Linked DNA regions of Homo sapiens: all the other regions are linked to region 5. The links are contacts of gene promoters, found by promoter capture Hi-C in blood cells and fetal thymus (Javierre and others, 2016). All regions are on one chromosome and are shown on one strand. Each heading gives the region's core, a stretch centred on a gene start or on the middle of the fragment in contact. The rest is flanking DNA. Distances are from core to core; before and after follow the strand shown. Region 1 overlaps CATSPERB (catsper channel auxiliary subunit beta). Region 2 overlaps CATSPERB (catsper channel auxiliary subunit beta). Region 3 overlaps CATSPERB (catsper channel auxiliary subunit beta). Region 4 overlaps CATSPERB (catsper channel auxiliary subunit beta). Region 5 holds the start of TC2N (tandem C2 domains, nuclear).

Evidence for each region. Contacts are between HindIII fragments. The CHiCAGO score rates a contact against its expected background, and 5 or more counts as called.
Region 1: a fragment that was not itself captured here is called in contact with the fragment with the promoter of TC2N in region 5 in 7 of 17 cell types (megakaryocytes, M2 macrophages, M1 macrophages and 4 more); the score reaches 14.3 in megakaryocytes.
Region 2: a contact is called between a fragment that was not itself captured here and the fragment with the promoter of TC2N in region 5, in 2 of 17 cell types (M2 macrophages and megakaryocytes). The highest score is 6.2, in M2 macrophages.
Region 3: a fragment that was not itself captured here is called in contact with the fragment with the promoter of TC2N in region 5 in 3 of 17 cell types (megakaryocytes, M2 macrophages and M1 macrophages); the score reaches 7.4 in megakaryocytes.
Region 4: a contact is called between a fragment that was not itself captured here and the fragment with the promoter of TC2N in region 5, in 2 of 17 cell types (M2 macrophages and megakaryocytes). The highest score is 5.4, in M2 macrophages.

Annotation. Positions count from the first base shown.
Region 1 is chr14:91,652,658-91,655,535 of GRCh38, reverse strand. The region is part of intron 15 of CATSPERB (catsper channel auxiliary subunit beta); the gene reads left to right. Among named protein-coding and RNA genes, the nearest start is that of CATSPERB, 78 kb to the left of the region's middle. The HindIII fragment of the contact is 2,277 bases long and covers 342-2,618 here.
Region 2 is chr14:91,675,413-91,678,256 of GRCh38, reverse strand. The region is part of intron 11 of CATSPERB (catsper channel auxiliary subunit beta); the gene reads left to right. Among named protein-coding and RNA genes, the nearest start is that of CATSPERB, 55 kb to the left of the region's middle. The HindIII fragment of the contact is 3,861 bases long and covers 1-2,844 here.
Region 3 is chr14:91,625,902-91,628,880 of GRCh38, reverse strand. All of the region lies in intron 17 of CATSPERB (catsper channel auxiliary subunit beta), which reads left to right. Among named protein-coding and RNA genes, the nearest start is that of CATSPERB, 100 kb to the left of the region's middle. The HindIII fragment of the contact is 3,656 bases long and covers 1-2,979 here.
Region 4 is chr14:91,703,944-91,707,067 of GRCh38, reverse strand. It overlaps CATSPERB (catsper channel auxiliary subunit beta), which reads left to right. Exons shown (of 27, transcript NM_024764.4): 7 at 2,367-2,516. Among named protein-coding and RNA genes, the nearest start is that of CATSPERB, 27 kb to the left of the region's middle. The HindIII fragment of the contact is 3,640 bases long and covers 1-3,124 here.
Region 5 is chr14:91,865,783-91,868,826 of GRCh38, reverse strand. It overlaps TC2N (tandem C2 domains, nuclear), which reads left to right and starts at 1,291. Exons shown (of 12, transcript NM_001128596.3): 1 at 1,291-1,565. RefSeq lists an enhancer at 1,076-1,125. The HindIII fragment of the contact is 17,848 bases long and covers 1-1,359 here.

The DNA.
Region 1 (2,878 bases), core at 231-2,730, 210 kb after region 5:
GCATTTTTCAGCTCCAGAATTCTGCTTGATTCTTTTTAATTGTTTCAATCTCTTTGCTAAATTTATCTGACAGGATTCTGGATTCCTTCTCTATATTATCTTGAATTTCCTTGAGTTTTCTCACAACAGCTATTCTGAATTCTCTGTCTGAAAGGTCACATATCTCTGTCTCTCCAAGATCGGTCTCTGGTGCCTTATTTTGTTCCTTTGGTGAGGTCATGTTCTCCTGGATGGTCTTGATGCTTCTGGACATTGATTGGTGTCTGGGGATTAAAGAGTTTGGTATTTATTTTAGTTTTCACAGTCTGGGCTTGTTCGTACCTGTCTTTCTTGGGAAAGCTTTCCAAGTATTCAAAGGGACTTGAGTGTTGTGATCTAAGTCTTTGCTCACTGCAGCTGAATCTGCATTAGGAGGTACCTCAAGCCCAGTAATGCTTTGGCTATTGCCAACTTGTAGAAGTACTGCCTTGGTGGTCTTATGTAAGATCCAGGAGAACTTGTATTACCTGTATTACCAGGTATTACAGGAAGAGACTGTATTACCAGGTATTACAGGAAGAGACTGTATTACCAGGAAGAGACTTTTGTTCTCTTACCTTACTTTCCACCAAACAAATAGTGTCTCTTTCTCTGTGCTAAGCTGCCTGGAGCTAGGGGAGGGGTGATGCAAGCACCCTTGTAGCCACCACCACTAGGACTGCACTGGGTCAAACCCAGAGCCAGCACAGCACCAGGTCTTGCCCAAGGCCCACAGTTTCCACTGCCTGGCTACTACCTATGTTCACTCTAGGCCCAAGAGCTCTATAATCAGCAGGTGATGAGTCCAGCCAGGGTTATGATCTTCCCTTCAGGGCAGTGAGTTGCCCCCAGCCCCAGCTAGGTCCAGAGATGCCATCTGGAAGCCAAGGAAGTTGAGACCCTTAGAGTCTATGTGGTATTCTATTCTATTGCGGCTAAGCTGGCACCCAAGCTGCAAGACAAAGTCTTTCTTACTCTTCCCTCCTTTATCCTGAAGCAGAGCAGTCTCTCTCCATGGCCACCACCACCCCAAGCCCATGGCAATTACCCCCTGGCTACCGCCACTATTCACTCAAGGTCCAAGGGCTCTTCAGTCAGCTTCTGGTGAATGCTGCCAGTCCTGGATTTCTCCTTTCAGGGCAGTGGCCCCACTCTGGCCCAGGGCAGGTTTAGAAATGCCACACAAGAGCCAAGTCCTGGAATCAGAGACCCCAGGAGCCCACTTCGTGAATTGTCCACTGTGGCCAAGCTGGTACCCAAGCTGATTTCTGGTTCTTATAAAGGTGCTTTCTTGTGTGGATCATTGTTCAATTTGATGTTCCTGCAGGGGTGGATAATCACTGGAGGCTCTATTCAGCCATCTTGCTCTGCCTCCTCTCTATAATCCCTCTTTTTCTAATCTTCCCTACTCCCCTCCTCTACTCACCCACCTCCTTCTTTATCCCTTTTCCTTCCTTCTTCTTCTGTTCTTCCCACTCTTCCTGTTTCCATCAAGTTCATCATTAAAGGTGCAGCACTGGTCAGATCTTCTATTTGCTCTAACATAGTGTAGGTGAATTATTCTTGAGACCCATCTGCTTCACCTCATTTAGATAGGACTTGGACCCATTTTCTCAACTCAGTAAAGTGCCTTGGAAAGTGGTAAACCTGGCTTCACTTATGAGGGCTTGATTTTTCCCTTTACTTTTCCTTTTGATATCTTCTCATCCACTGTCACCTTCTTATATGGTTTGGCTGTGTCCCAACCCAAATCTCAACTTGAGTTGTATCTCCCAGAATTCCCACATGTGGGAGGGACCCAGGGGGAGGTAATCAAATCATGGGGGCTGGTTTTTCCTGTGCTATTCTCATGATAGTGAATAAGTCTCACAAGATCTTATGGGTTTATAAGGGGTTTCCGCTTTTGCTTCCTCCTCATTTCTCTCTTGCTGCAACCATGTAAGAAGTGCCTTCCACCCTCTGCCATGATTGTGAGATCTTCCCCAGCCATGTGGAACTGTAAGTCTAATTAAATGTCTTTCTTTTGTAAATTGCCCAGTCTCGGGCATGTCTTGATCAGCAGCATGAAAAGGGACCAATACACCTTCTTACTTGTTAGAAGGGTATAACCGAGAGCCTTCAGGATTTTGTTGATTTACCTTCCTTCTCTCAATATTGCCTCAACAATGAACTATTATAGATTATTGGGTAACTTTTGAGATTGAGGTAGACTTGGAGATATCTTATTAGGTCTAACAGAAATTAGAAAAACACTGTCACCAAGACAAGACAGAGGCTGTGTTTTTTTGTTTGTTGTTTTTAACACACAGCATTTTTTATTGTATAGTTTAAAATTTCTTCTGATCTCCAGTTTCTTCTGATCTTCAGTCTCTGATACGATTTTAAATGACGAAGTTTCTGATATAACTTCAAAAAGCATGGTTTTGCAGGCCTCAATATTTTGTCCTTGATGTTCACCAGCAAAAGCAGTTTTACAGTTATACAATCTCCTCTATTGGTCCTTCCTTGTTTGAGAATAAGGACAGACCACAAAATCCTGATGCTATTTCTCCAGATCTTCACCACTCAGTTTATTTATTCTCTATTCTGTCAATAAAGCTTTTGTTTAACTTATGTCAGTATCAAGATTAATCCATGTGGTTTGTATGTCTGAATCATGTGTTGAGACAGCAGCTGTGTCAACCTAAGATTCTGGTGATCAGACTTTATATGATTGTGAAATAAATGAAAGTAATTGTGAATATTGTTAGGAGCACAATGTTGAACGTTTCCAGTATTCCAGAAAGCTCCCTCTTGCCTCTTGCTGCATTTCTTTTTTTTTTTTTTTTTTTTTTTTTTTTTTTTTTTGAGACAGAGTCTT
Region 2 (2,844 bases), core at 2-2,501, 190 kb after region 5:
AGTTTTGTTTTTTATTTTACTTTAAGTTCCAGGATACAAGTGCAGAACGTGTAGGCTCGTTACATAGGTATATATGTGCCATGGTGGTTTGCTGCATCTTTCAACTGTCATCTAGGTTTTAAGCCCCACATGCATTAGCTATTTGTCCTAATGCTCTCTCCCCCCTTGCCCCCCACCTGCCAACTGGCCCTGGTGTGTGTTGTTCCCTTCCCTGTGTCCATGTGTTCTCACTGTTCAACTCCCACTTATGAGTAAGAACATGCGGTGTTTGGTTTTCTTCTGTTCCTGTGTTAGTTTGCTGAGGATTATGGCTTCCAGCTTCATCCATGTCCCTGCAAAGGACATGATCTCATTCCTTTTTAGGGCTGCATAGTATTCCATGGTGTACATGTACCCATTTTCTTTATCCCGTCTACCATTGATGGGTATTTGGGTTGGTTGCATGTCTTTGCTATTGTAACTAGTGCTGCAATACAGTAGCAAGTAGATAAGGGCCCAAATGCGCATGTGCCTTTATAGTAGAATGATTTATTTTCCTTAGAGTATATACCCAGTAATGGGATTGCTAGGTCAAATGACATTTCTGGTTCTAGATCCTTGAGGAATTGCCACACTGTCTCCACAATGGCTGAACTAATTTACATTCCCACCAACAGTGTAAAAGCGTTCCTATTTCTCCACAGCCTTGCCAGCATCTATTGTTTCTTGGCTTTTTAATAATCACCATTCTGACAGGTATAAGATGGTATCTCATTGTGGTTTTGATTTGCATTTCTTTAATGATTAGTGATGTTGCACTCTTTTTTCATATGTTTCTTGGCTGCATAAATGTCTTATTTTGAGAAGTGTCTGTTCATATCCTTTGCCCACTTTTTGATGGGATTTTTTTTCTTGTAAATTTGTTTAAGTTCCTTGTAGATTCTTTGTAGATTCTTGGGTAGATTACAAAAATATTCTCCCATTCGTAGGTTGCCTGTTCCCTCTAATGATAGTTTCTTTTGCTGTGCAGAAGCTCTTTAGTTTAATTAGATCCTGTTTGTCAATTTTGGCTTTTCTTACAATTGCTTTTGGTGTTTTCATCATGAAGTCTTTGCCCATGCCTATGTCCTGAATGGTATTGCCTAGGTTTTCTTCCAGGATTTTTATGGCTTTGGGTTTTACATTTAAGTGTTTAATCCATCTTGAATTAATTTTTCTATAAGGTGTGAGGAAGGGGTTCAGTTTCAGTTTTCTGCATATGGCTAGCCAGTTTTCCCAGCACCATTTATTAAATAGGGAATTCTTTCCCCATTGCTTGTTTTTCTCAGGTTTTTCGAAGATGAGATGGTTGTAGATGTGTGGTGTTATTTCTGAAGTCTCTGTTATGTTCCATTGGTCTAGATGTCTGTTTTGGTACCAGTACCATGCTGTATTGGTTACTGTAGACTTGTAGTATAGTTCGAAGTCAGGTAGCATGATGCTTCCAGCTTTGTTCTTTTTGCTTAGGATTGTCTTGGCTATACGGGCTCTTTTTTGGTTCCATACCATTGACATTCCTTACAGAATTTGAAAAAACTAATTTAAATTTCATGTGGCAGTTCAGTTTTTAAAAGTCTCTTTTATCCTTTTTTTCTTCCATTCCAAATGAGCTTCCAATGTTTACATTTCAGTTAGAACATAAATAATGAGTCTTAGCACCACAGCTTAGTAAAAGCAGATTCAAAGCAGATTCAAGGCAGGCAGAAAAAAAAAAAGAAGATAGAGAACTTTAGAACTCTGATTAACTTTATAGTTGCAAATTAACCATGTGAGCTCTGAATTTTTTTTGCTATAACTTGCCCCTCAGTTTAAAATGTGCACAGAAATGGACCATAATATGTGACCAGCTGGAGTCCCAAAGAGGATGACAAAATCAGGGGCCTTTAGTGAGCAGAGGAGCAGCCTATATTGATGCCTTGCTTTTGCCTCTGTATCAATAATTCCCTGCAACTAGATTGCCAGGAGTTGGGTGAATCCTCCTTATTTTACACAACCAGTGTTGATGGTACCATTCATGGTCCCAATAGGCATGCCTGTGTAAATTTTGCCACACAGTCAGGAGAGCCAAACATGTAAAAGAATTAATTTCCCCAACAGTCTAATGACTGGCGATGACCAATATAGCCTTTTTTTTAACACATCAACCTTAATCTAAGTTCAGGTCCTGCTGCAATCCCAGTAAGCAGTAATGGAAGGGCAACAAATGAGATGGCAAAACAAGTGGACAGAAAGGGCAAAAGAATTGGAGTTGGGACTGTTTAAACATTTATCCCAGGTATTTCCGACAAATAACATTGAAAACCGTAAGTGGGATACAGGCCCATTTAGATAACCCACAGAAGAATTCACATGCTTCTTTCCCCCATAAGATTTGGCACAGCTCTGAGAAGTACTTTGGGGTCCGAGAAAGAGCAACCCAGCCAAGAACCAGGGTGACAAAAGCTGTTCTACTTCAGGGTTGGATCCCTAGATTGAGTGGGGGGCTTAGACAGGCTGCCTTAAAGGGTAGAGAAAGAAGGAAAGAAAGTTGCAAGTAGATAAGGGCCCAAATGTAGATCACATACATACACAGATTCAGATGGTGCACTCCCAGGCTGATTCCCCATCAAGGGGACTAGATAAAAGTCCTGAAACCTTGTCTCAACTTCAGATGGCCCCATGAGCAGCTAGGTCAAAACAGAACAAAGCTCAAGTGGTGCCACAGATAAAGATGATGTACCTGCCCAGACAATGTCGCAAGCAGCTACATCCAAATGGAGCAGAGCTCAAGTGTTACCACAGAAGAGACAGAGGAGACCTGGGTGCATTCCAGTTGACTTATCCAGT
Region 3 (2,979 bases), core at 382-2,881, 240 kb after region 5:
CCAGTATTTGGGTTGTCAGTGTTTTGGATTTCTGCCATTCTAATAGTCATGTGGTGGTATCTCATTGTTAATTTGCATTTCCCTGATGACATATGCAGTAGTCTGTTTTCACACTGCTATAAAGAAATACCTGAAACTGGGTAATTTATAAAGGAAAGAGGTTTAATTGACTCACAGTTCTGCATGGCTGGGGAGGCCATGGTGGAAGATGAAGGGGAAGCAAGGCACGTCTTACATGGCGGCAGGAGAAAGAGACAGTGCAGGGGAAACTGCCATTTTTAAAACCATCAGATCTCATGAGAACTCCCTCACTGTTATGAGAACAGCATGGGGAAAACCGCCCCCATGATCCAACCACCTCCCACCAGGTCCCTCCCTTGACACGTGGGGATTACAATTCAAGATGAGATTTGGGTGGGGACATTGAGCCAAACCATATCAGTATATGATGTAGAACATTTTTTGCTATAGTTACCTGCCATCTGCATATATTCTTTGGTGAGGTATCTGTTAAGGTCTTTGGCCCATTTTTTAAATCAGGTTGTACACTTTCTTATTGTTATATTATTAGAGATTTTTGTATTGTAGGAGATCAGATTATGCCAACCCAGAACCATGCAGTGGTGTGTGCCTGTAGGTGCAGCTACTACAGAGTCTGAGGCAGGAGGATCTCAAGTTCAAGCCTAGTCTGGGCAAAATAGTGAGACCTCCAATTTCCAAACAAAACAAAACAAAAAAACAAAGAATATGCCACTTTGGCATAAAGATTATTTGAGCTGAAGGAAATTAAGGAAAAACAAGCACAAGAAAAACTCTTTGCCCCCTCCCACCAGAAAGGGCAGAATGATTCTTAATCACTGAAGATAACTCTAGACTATATAAATATATATTTTTTTCTTTTTAGAGACAGATTCTCACTCTGTTACCCAGGCTGGAGTGCAGTGGTGCAATCATAGCTCACTGCAGCCTCGAACTCCTGGGCTCAAGCAATCCTCCTGCCTCAGCCTCCCATGTAGCTGGGACTACAGGCATGTGCCACCACACCCAGCTAGTTTATTTTATTTTTAAATGTTTTTAGAGGCAAGATCTCACTATGTTGCATCCAAGCTGGTCTCCAACTCCTGGCCTCAAGCAACCCTCCTGCCTCAGGCTTTCCTCCAGAGTAGCTGGGATTACAGGCACAAGCAACTCTAGACTATTAATAAACCCAGAGACACAAAGAATTTACAGAAGAAACCTTCTCAAAACAACCCTTATCTTCCATTAGTTCCCTCCATTTATTTACCTTCCACAGTTTGCTGACCCTAAAAACCTAAGCCCATTTTTCTTTGTCTTGTCACTTCTCTAAAAATTTGTTATGAAGCCCCATGTTCTAACTACCCTTTTTAGCTACTCATCACTGCTGTTTTTCCTGCATGTAAGCACAATGCACATGTTAATAAATTCCACCTGTTTTTCTCTTGTTAATCTGTATTTGTCAGTATAATTGTCAGGGTCTCAGTTACAGAACCAAGGAGAATAGAGGAAAAAGAGGTTTCTTCTCCCTTCCCCTACAGTTTATTTTGGATAACAGTCCTTTATATGTCTTTTGAAAATATTTTCTCCTAGTATGTGGCTTGTCTTCTAATTCTCTTGACAGGATATTTCAGAGTGTAAGTTTGTAATTTTAGTAAGGTACCAATTACTAATGAGAGATACATGCAAACCATAGCATGTATTTTTAACACAAATTCAGTGTTCACTGCTTAACACTGTCATTTAAAAATCTTTACTAATTGGTTAAAAATTGTATCCCATTGTTGTAATTGCAATTTCTTCTATTACAAATGAGGTCGACCAAATGTTAATCAAATGTTTGTTAGCTATTTTTGGTATATTTTGTTTATAAACTATTTGTTCATAAATTGGTTCATGTAATCCACTGTTTTATCCAAATTACTTAATGGTTTTACTTGTGTTTAGGAAAACTGGAGAGAAATTTATCAATTTTCTCTTTCATGGATTGTGTCTTTGGTGTTGTATTCAACAGTCATTGCATGAAGATGGTAAATTTTGTTAGGTGTATCTTCTTAGTCTGTTTCATGCTGCTATAATAGAATATCACAGACTGGGTAATGTATAAAGAAAAGAAATTTATTTCTTACAGTTCTGGAGGGTGGGAAATCCAAGACTGGGGGGCCCACATCTGGTGAGGGCCTCATGCTCCGTCATCCCATGGTGGAAGGCAGAAGGGTGAGCACATGTGAGCACGCATATGAAGCACTCATGTGCAAAAGAGAGAGAGAAAGACAGGGGGAGGGAAGGGACTGAATTCATTCTTTTATCAGGAACCCACTCACACAATAATTAACCCACTCCTGCAATAATGGCATTCATCCATTCGTGAGGGCAAAGCCTCATGATCTAATCACCCCTTAAAAGTCCCACCTCTCAGGTTGCAGTGAGCTGAGATGGCGCCACTGCACTCCAGGCTGGCGGCAGAGCAAGACTCTGTCTCAAAAAAAAAAAAAAAAAAAAAAAAGTCCCACCTCTCAACACTCTTGCATTGGAAATTGTGTTTTCAACACATGAACTTTGAGGAATACATTAAAACCATAGCATATATTTTAACATAATTTTTTTAATTGAGGGAAAAAAGTAATTGCCATACCCAAGGTCATCTAGATTTTCTCCTATGTTATCTTCTTAGGAGTTTTATAGTTTTACATTTTATATTTAAGTCTGTGGCCCATTTAGAGTTCTTTATTTTCTTTTTTGAGACAGGGTCTGGCTCTGTCACCCACGCTGGAGTGCAGTGGCACTATCTCAGCTCACTGCAACCTCCACCTCACAGGCTCAAGTGATCCCACTGCCTCAGCCTCCTGAGTAGCTGGGATTACAGGCATGTGCCACCATACCTGGTTAATTTTTGTATTTTTAGTAAAGATAGGGTTTCACCATGTTGCCTAGGCTGGTCTTGAACTCCTAGGCTCAACCAAT
Region 4 (3,124 bases), core at 371-2,870, 160 kb after region 5:
CAGAGAACTAATAAATTCTGATTTATCTTTTATAATGAAAAGACCATTTTGGCTGCTATGTAGAGAATAACTCTTGAGGAAGGATAGCAAGAATGGAATAAAGGAAATTGGTAGCAGTTGTTGCAATAGTCCCCTTGAGAAGGTCTGGAGTAGATGGACAGTAGCATTAGCAGTGGAGGTGGTGAGCAGAGCCTTCAGAATAGATTTTGAAAGTAGAGCTGCTATGGCTTCTTGGTGGACTAAGATGGGGGAAAACAGAATTAACAAGGATGATGCCTGGATTTCTTACTCAAGCATTCAAGTAGAGGATGATATCATTCACCAAAATGCTGAAGACAGGAGAAGCAGACACTGGGAAATAGGAATCAAGAGTTAAGGCTAGAGTTAGAAATCTTTATTCACTACTGAACTCAAAAGAGAGTGTAAAACCTTGTCTCTATTTCTTCATATCCAATCCACACCCCAAACCACTCATTTGTTTCCATCTCCTCCACGCTACTCAAACTGTTGCTAATCACAGTCACCAGTGACCTTCATATTGGTCACTTTTCTGTCCCCTTTTTAGCTTCTTAGTAGCAGTCAAAACTTTTAATCAGTTCCTTGTTCTTAAAATGCTTAAGATATACTACCTGACTTCAGGAACTTGTATATAAGTAGGGGGGCATTGTCAGCTCCGTGATGTCCAGTGGTAAGCTGAAATCTCCCTGACCTGGGTGTGAATGGTCTGCAAACAAATATTATACCCTGCAACGTCAGCTGCTTTGCCCCACATTTCTTTGAATTCTGGAGTGACTTCCTGGTGAATTAGTGTAGTTAGAGATTGTGTCTCTTTCCCTTCTTGGCTGTCCTTGTGCTGCACTACGTCAACCCAGATGAAAAGTTAGCTTGTTTTCTTGCTTTGCACAAAGTGAAAAAAATATCACATAAAGTCTTTGGGTTTGTAGCAGATTTTATTGAAAGTTGGGGAGACAGAGGAGAATGTAAATAGCTAAATAACTGGTTATCAGTTATCTCTGCTTTTAAAAGTCCTTTGACTATTTTTGAAATTCAGACAGCAGTTGTCTTTCAAATTGCCCTGGCTTACTTTTTGTACTCTTTTTTTTCTCATTTTTTTCTAAAAGAAAAAAAACCCTCCCTTTTATTAATGCATGAAAATTCGACTTTAGCTCCAATCCTTTGCATATCCAAAAGTAATATTTTAAGTTTTAAAATTTGTGACGCCTTGTCTGATGACGTTCTTTCGAAAGGCTCATTGTCTACCCTGGTCTGGTGAGGAAGAGTGTACCCTGATTCTTCTAGTTACAGTGAGTGCAGAGTCCTATTGGAGCACCTGGGAGGAGAGCCTCACTCATTCTAGGGCGTCATGGAAGGCTTCCCAAAGAGGGAGACATTCACATTGAGGACTGAAAAATAGGGTTGTGAGAAAAACAGATATTCAAAGCCCCACAAACTAGAGCCTGTAATGGGAGGCCAGTTCTGGCAAGAAGTAAAGCTGAGGAACCAAGAGGACGTCAGATTCTGGAAGGCCTGGTTTGCCACGTGAAAGACCTTATTCACCACTAGTGCTGCTATTCTGCCTGTGCTGCATTGGAGATGCTTCACCTCTGATTGCTTTCTCTTCTGCATCTCATTCCCAACTTCTATCTTGCAGAAATCCTTCTAAGTCTCTTGGCCCCTAATGATAACTGTCCCTGTTCACCACTGCTACTCTGGATTTTACTCATTTTCATCTACCTACTGTTGTTTCAATGAGATTGGGAAGAGAACAAAAAGTAAATGAGTGGGCTCTAGAAGCAGAAGTTATAAATATATTCTGTGATCCAGCAATTCCATTTATACAGATAGATCCTGTGGCAAATAGTATTTTTCAACTACCTTCCAGAAATCCCTCTCAGTCTCTTGGCCACTAATGATAACTGTCCCTGTTCTCCACTGCTACTCTGGATTTATTCCCATTTTTATATATCTACTGCTATTTCAGTGGGATTGGGAAGAGAACAAAAAGTAAATGAGTGGGCTCAGAAGTTATAAATGTGCGTATTCTGTGATCCAGCAATTCCATTTCTAGGGATAGATCCTGTGGCAAATGGTATTTTTCAAATGTGGCCAAAGCAATCTCTCTCATTCCACATGCTCTTCTGCAATGTAACCTTGCCAGCCCCCCACCAAGGGGAATTAGACTTTACTCCTTATATCCTGGAAAATAGTCACTGACTGATTTTTAACCAATGCAGAGTGAGGTAATGCACCTTTTTTGAACTATAGAATAGTTTCTTTACATAGTTCTTTTAAAACCTTTAAAGGAAAGTAGCATCCATTTTCAAGGGTGCTCCCACAATTTAAACACCCAAATTTGATTTCCACAGAACCGATTCTTCAGTGGACTCCTGGGGATGTGATTCCAGAAAGTGAAATCAGTAAATTATATCCACATGTGGTAGATCTCAAAGTGACAAAATGCCCCTGTGCCAATGATGTGGCATTACTAGGCTTCATTGTGGATACAATAGTTGATGGTAGGTCTACAGCTTCATTAAATGTTGACATTGGCCTTTTATATTTTGTAACAGTAATGTTTAACTGGCAGCAGAAATAAATGCATAGACATAGGGAAGGAAAATTGTTTCCTAAAAATACCTAAAAATTTATTATTCAATACTGTATCTTGTCTACTTCCAAGTATGATATACTAAGTATGTTTTCTTACTGTGACTTTTTGCCATGTTAATTGTGACTTTAGTGTGTCTCCTAATTTCATTTATCCCATGCCCTCCATTAATATGTTACTTTCTCCCAGAGATTATCTGCTATTCCTACCATGTATAAATAGGTATTTTTGTTCTTGAAATACCACATTACTTAGTTTATGTTTGCATTTTTTTCATTACTACTGTAATATCTGAGAGCATCTATATAGGGAAAGAAACAACTGTTTCTCTCTATATCCATTTCATAACACTCTAATACCAAATGTATGGATTTTCCACACCGAGTGATTCTCCAGTTCTCTGTGGATGACCGAGTAGGTGTCCTATGATTTAATACAATTCTGGCACTAGCTATCTGGAGTTAGCACAGACCCCCCTCTCCAGCCAACAACAGATTAAGGGCTCAGTCCCACAAG
Region 5 (3,044 bases), core at 42-2,541:
GCCTCTGGACATCCTTCAAGTCTTAGAACCCTGTGCAGGGGCCAAGAGAGTCAACATTGCAAGTCACAGGAGAACAGGTTGGGATGGCTGTCTTTATGTGCCATCCCAGGAATCAACCCAAGGCTTCAGGAAAAAAGTGCACTCCCTGATAGCTGAGGTGGAGTCTACAGATCCATCTGAGGGTGCTCCCATCCTACCTGTTGGTGAGGTATTCATTAAGGACCCCCACAGTGCCTATCAGGAGTTGTGTCCTGGACCCCTAGTCTTAGTAGGCATTCCACAGATCCTTGTGATATGGACAGGAGACAGGGAAATACTGGGTAGAAGAGGGTGGTTCCCTGGCAAAGGCCCCACCCTCAAGCCTGGGTACCCATGGCCCTAAATGAGGACAGCCATTCCTGTTTTCATCCCTAAAAAGTTGCCTTTTGGCCTGCCATGTCCCCTATCCTGTACCCATATAAACCCTGAACCCCAGGCTCCAGGCTCCAGAAGCAGACGGGGAGACAAGAAGATGAGCAGACATGAATGGCAGAAAAGCACGGCAAAGAAGGAGAGAAGAGAAGGAACATTGGGAGGAATTCGACTGGAGACGATCTGAAAACTGGCCACTGGATGGCCAAACTCCAGGGGAAGATCATCTTCCCACTCCATCCCCTGTCCAGCTCCCCATCCATCCTACTTAGAGCCACCTCCACCACTCAATAAAACCCCTGCATTCATCCTGCAAATCCATGTGTGACCTGATCCCTCCGGGATGCTGGACAAGAGCTCGGGATACAGGAAACTGTCACACTGGCCCTCTGCCCTGGCAAAAAGGGAGAGGGTCCACTAAGCTGGTTAACGCTTAAGCTGTCCACGGATGGCAAGGCTGAAAGACTGCACTGTTTCAGTGCCTACTCGGGCTTTGGAAGTCACAGACACCGACCCCGGGATGCTGTCATGGGGCTGGGGCCCAAAAGTGCTCACCCTGGTTCCTGCACCTGCCTGTCTGCGTGCTCCCCTTCCCATAAGGGGTTTTAGCTTGGGGTGGCTGAAGAGAGAGCCACACCCCTGTTGCACATCCTGTGAGGGGGCCAGGGAATTCTCCTGTTCCACTTAGTAGTATCTTAGGCCTTCAGTGGAAGGAAACAGCATGTTCCACGCCCTGTAGCATCCAAGAAGCTGCAAGTCCTCCCTCCTCACCCCAAGAGCATTTCTCACACCCACACCACACACCTCACTTTGCTGTTGGCTGTGGTTATTTTTTTCTCTAACTAAGCACATCTAAACCATGCCTAGTTGTGGTTCTTCAGTCAGGGTCAAGTGGTGTTAGCAATCACATCAGCACCAAATGGCTCAGGATGCTCTGGTTTCAAAGCTTATAAAACAGAGGGTGATTCCCTTGGGACTCACTCAGCTCGGCTCCGAAAAGCAAAGGCCAGAAGGCAGCAGTGAGCCTGGGTCCCTGCTGTGTAGGGAGACTCAGGGGCTGGGAAGAAGGATGGAATCAGAAATGCTGAAGGTTTACGTGAGCTTTGCACCGAGCGCCTCCGAACCACTGCCTCTGGGCTCAACAGAACACAGGGGTAAGTCTCCATGAACTTCTCAAAAAGAAAACTGGGAAGCTTTCTGTCTTGATGATTTGAGGACCCACTGGTTTCAGAGGTGCCACATTTGGAACCAGATCCGAGTCTTTAAGGTTTGTGTTTTATTTGTTCATGTCAAAATGTGGCTTCCTGCTTCTAAGAAAAGAAACTCAGGCTCATAAAAGCAGCCTCCAAGGGCTTCTTGGACCTCAAATTGCGCTTTCAAAATGTGGTCTGATGGGTTCAGTGTAAATGCACCAGAGGCATGTGGGATCCATTTACCTTAAAATACACTTGGGCCTAAAAATTAAGAGAAAAACAGTCCAGGGCAAAGTGTATACTGCAAAGTCAAGCTCCAAACATTTGGGAAACAGTTCTAGAGGCTGCTGGAACCCCAAATGCTACTTGCTTTACCTACCCCTTGGGAATCATCAAATGTTATTTTTTGTACAAGACTGGGGATGAGCCTGCTCTCTGATCCCAGTGCTGTGCTCTGCTGTGCAGTTCTAATGGGGCAGGCTGTTTCCTGGACCCTGAGATCTCCAGGCTCCCTGTGCCTATTCCTTGTCAGCTTTGCCCCATCCAGGAGCTGGGCTGAGCTTGTCAAGTGACCTCTGCTTTGTACCACTCCATCAGGTCCTGAAGAATGAAGGGTACCAAGGTGGAAGGGGCGCAGGATTAAGAGTAGGGACGCCTGCAAAAGCTCTCGTGTTACCACCTCATCTTCCAACTTTCATGTGGGTGAAAACGTTCATCCTAAATAATTGCTTCTAATTCTGAAGTTTTGTGATTCCTTGAAATGTACTTTGGGGATGACAGCCAGCATTTCCATTTCACTGCAATTTCAGAGTTTTGCAGTGGTTTGCCAATCATAACACTTTCTAATTGGCACAAAATCCACCTACCTGTTGCCTCTCAGGCTTGGGTAACATACTTCAGACACTTTCTTAGGTAAGTCTTGGCCCTTGGGGTGTTATTTGCCCAGATGGTAAAAACATTTAAGTAGGTCTGATTATTTCATTTTCAGTGGTTTCAACGCATTTTTGTGGCCTGGGTGGTTACTGTAATGTGCCCAAGTTGTTCATTCTGAGCCAACGGGGTCACCCACAGAGAGAAGACTTGACAAAGGAACTCTCCTCTACTCCCCTCTTGCCAGATGAAATATTGTTTGTAAAAGGTCTTTGTCTTGAGAGGATCACATACTTTGGTTAAGAATCCACTTTGGTTAAGCCGGTTGCTGGATTCAGAGACATGAACAGGATAGACAGTCCACCGATAACTTTATAATAACACCTTTTTAATAACACCTTTAATAACTTTTTAATAACTTTAAAAGTTATTAAAACTTTATAAAAAGTTAATCTAAAACTTTAATAACTTTTTAATAACACCTTTAGCCAGGGGTTTATGCAGCATACACGACAAAACTGGAATATAATGTGGTAGGTGCAGTAGCAGGGTCCACAAAATTATTTTAGT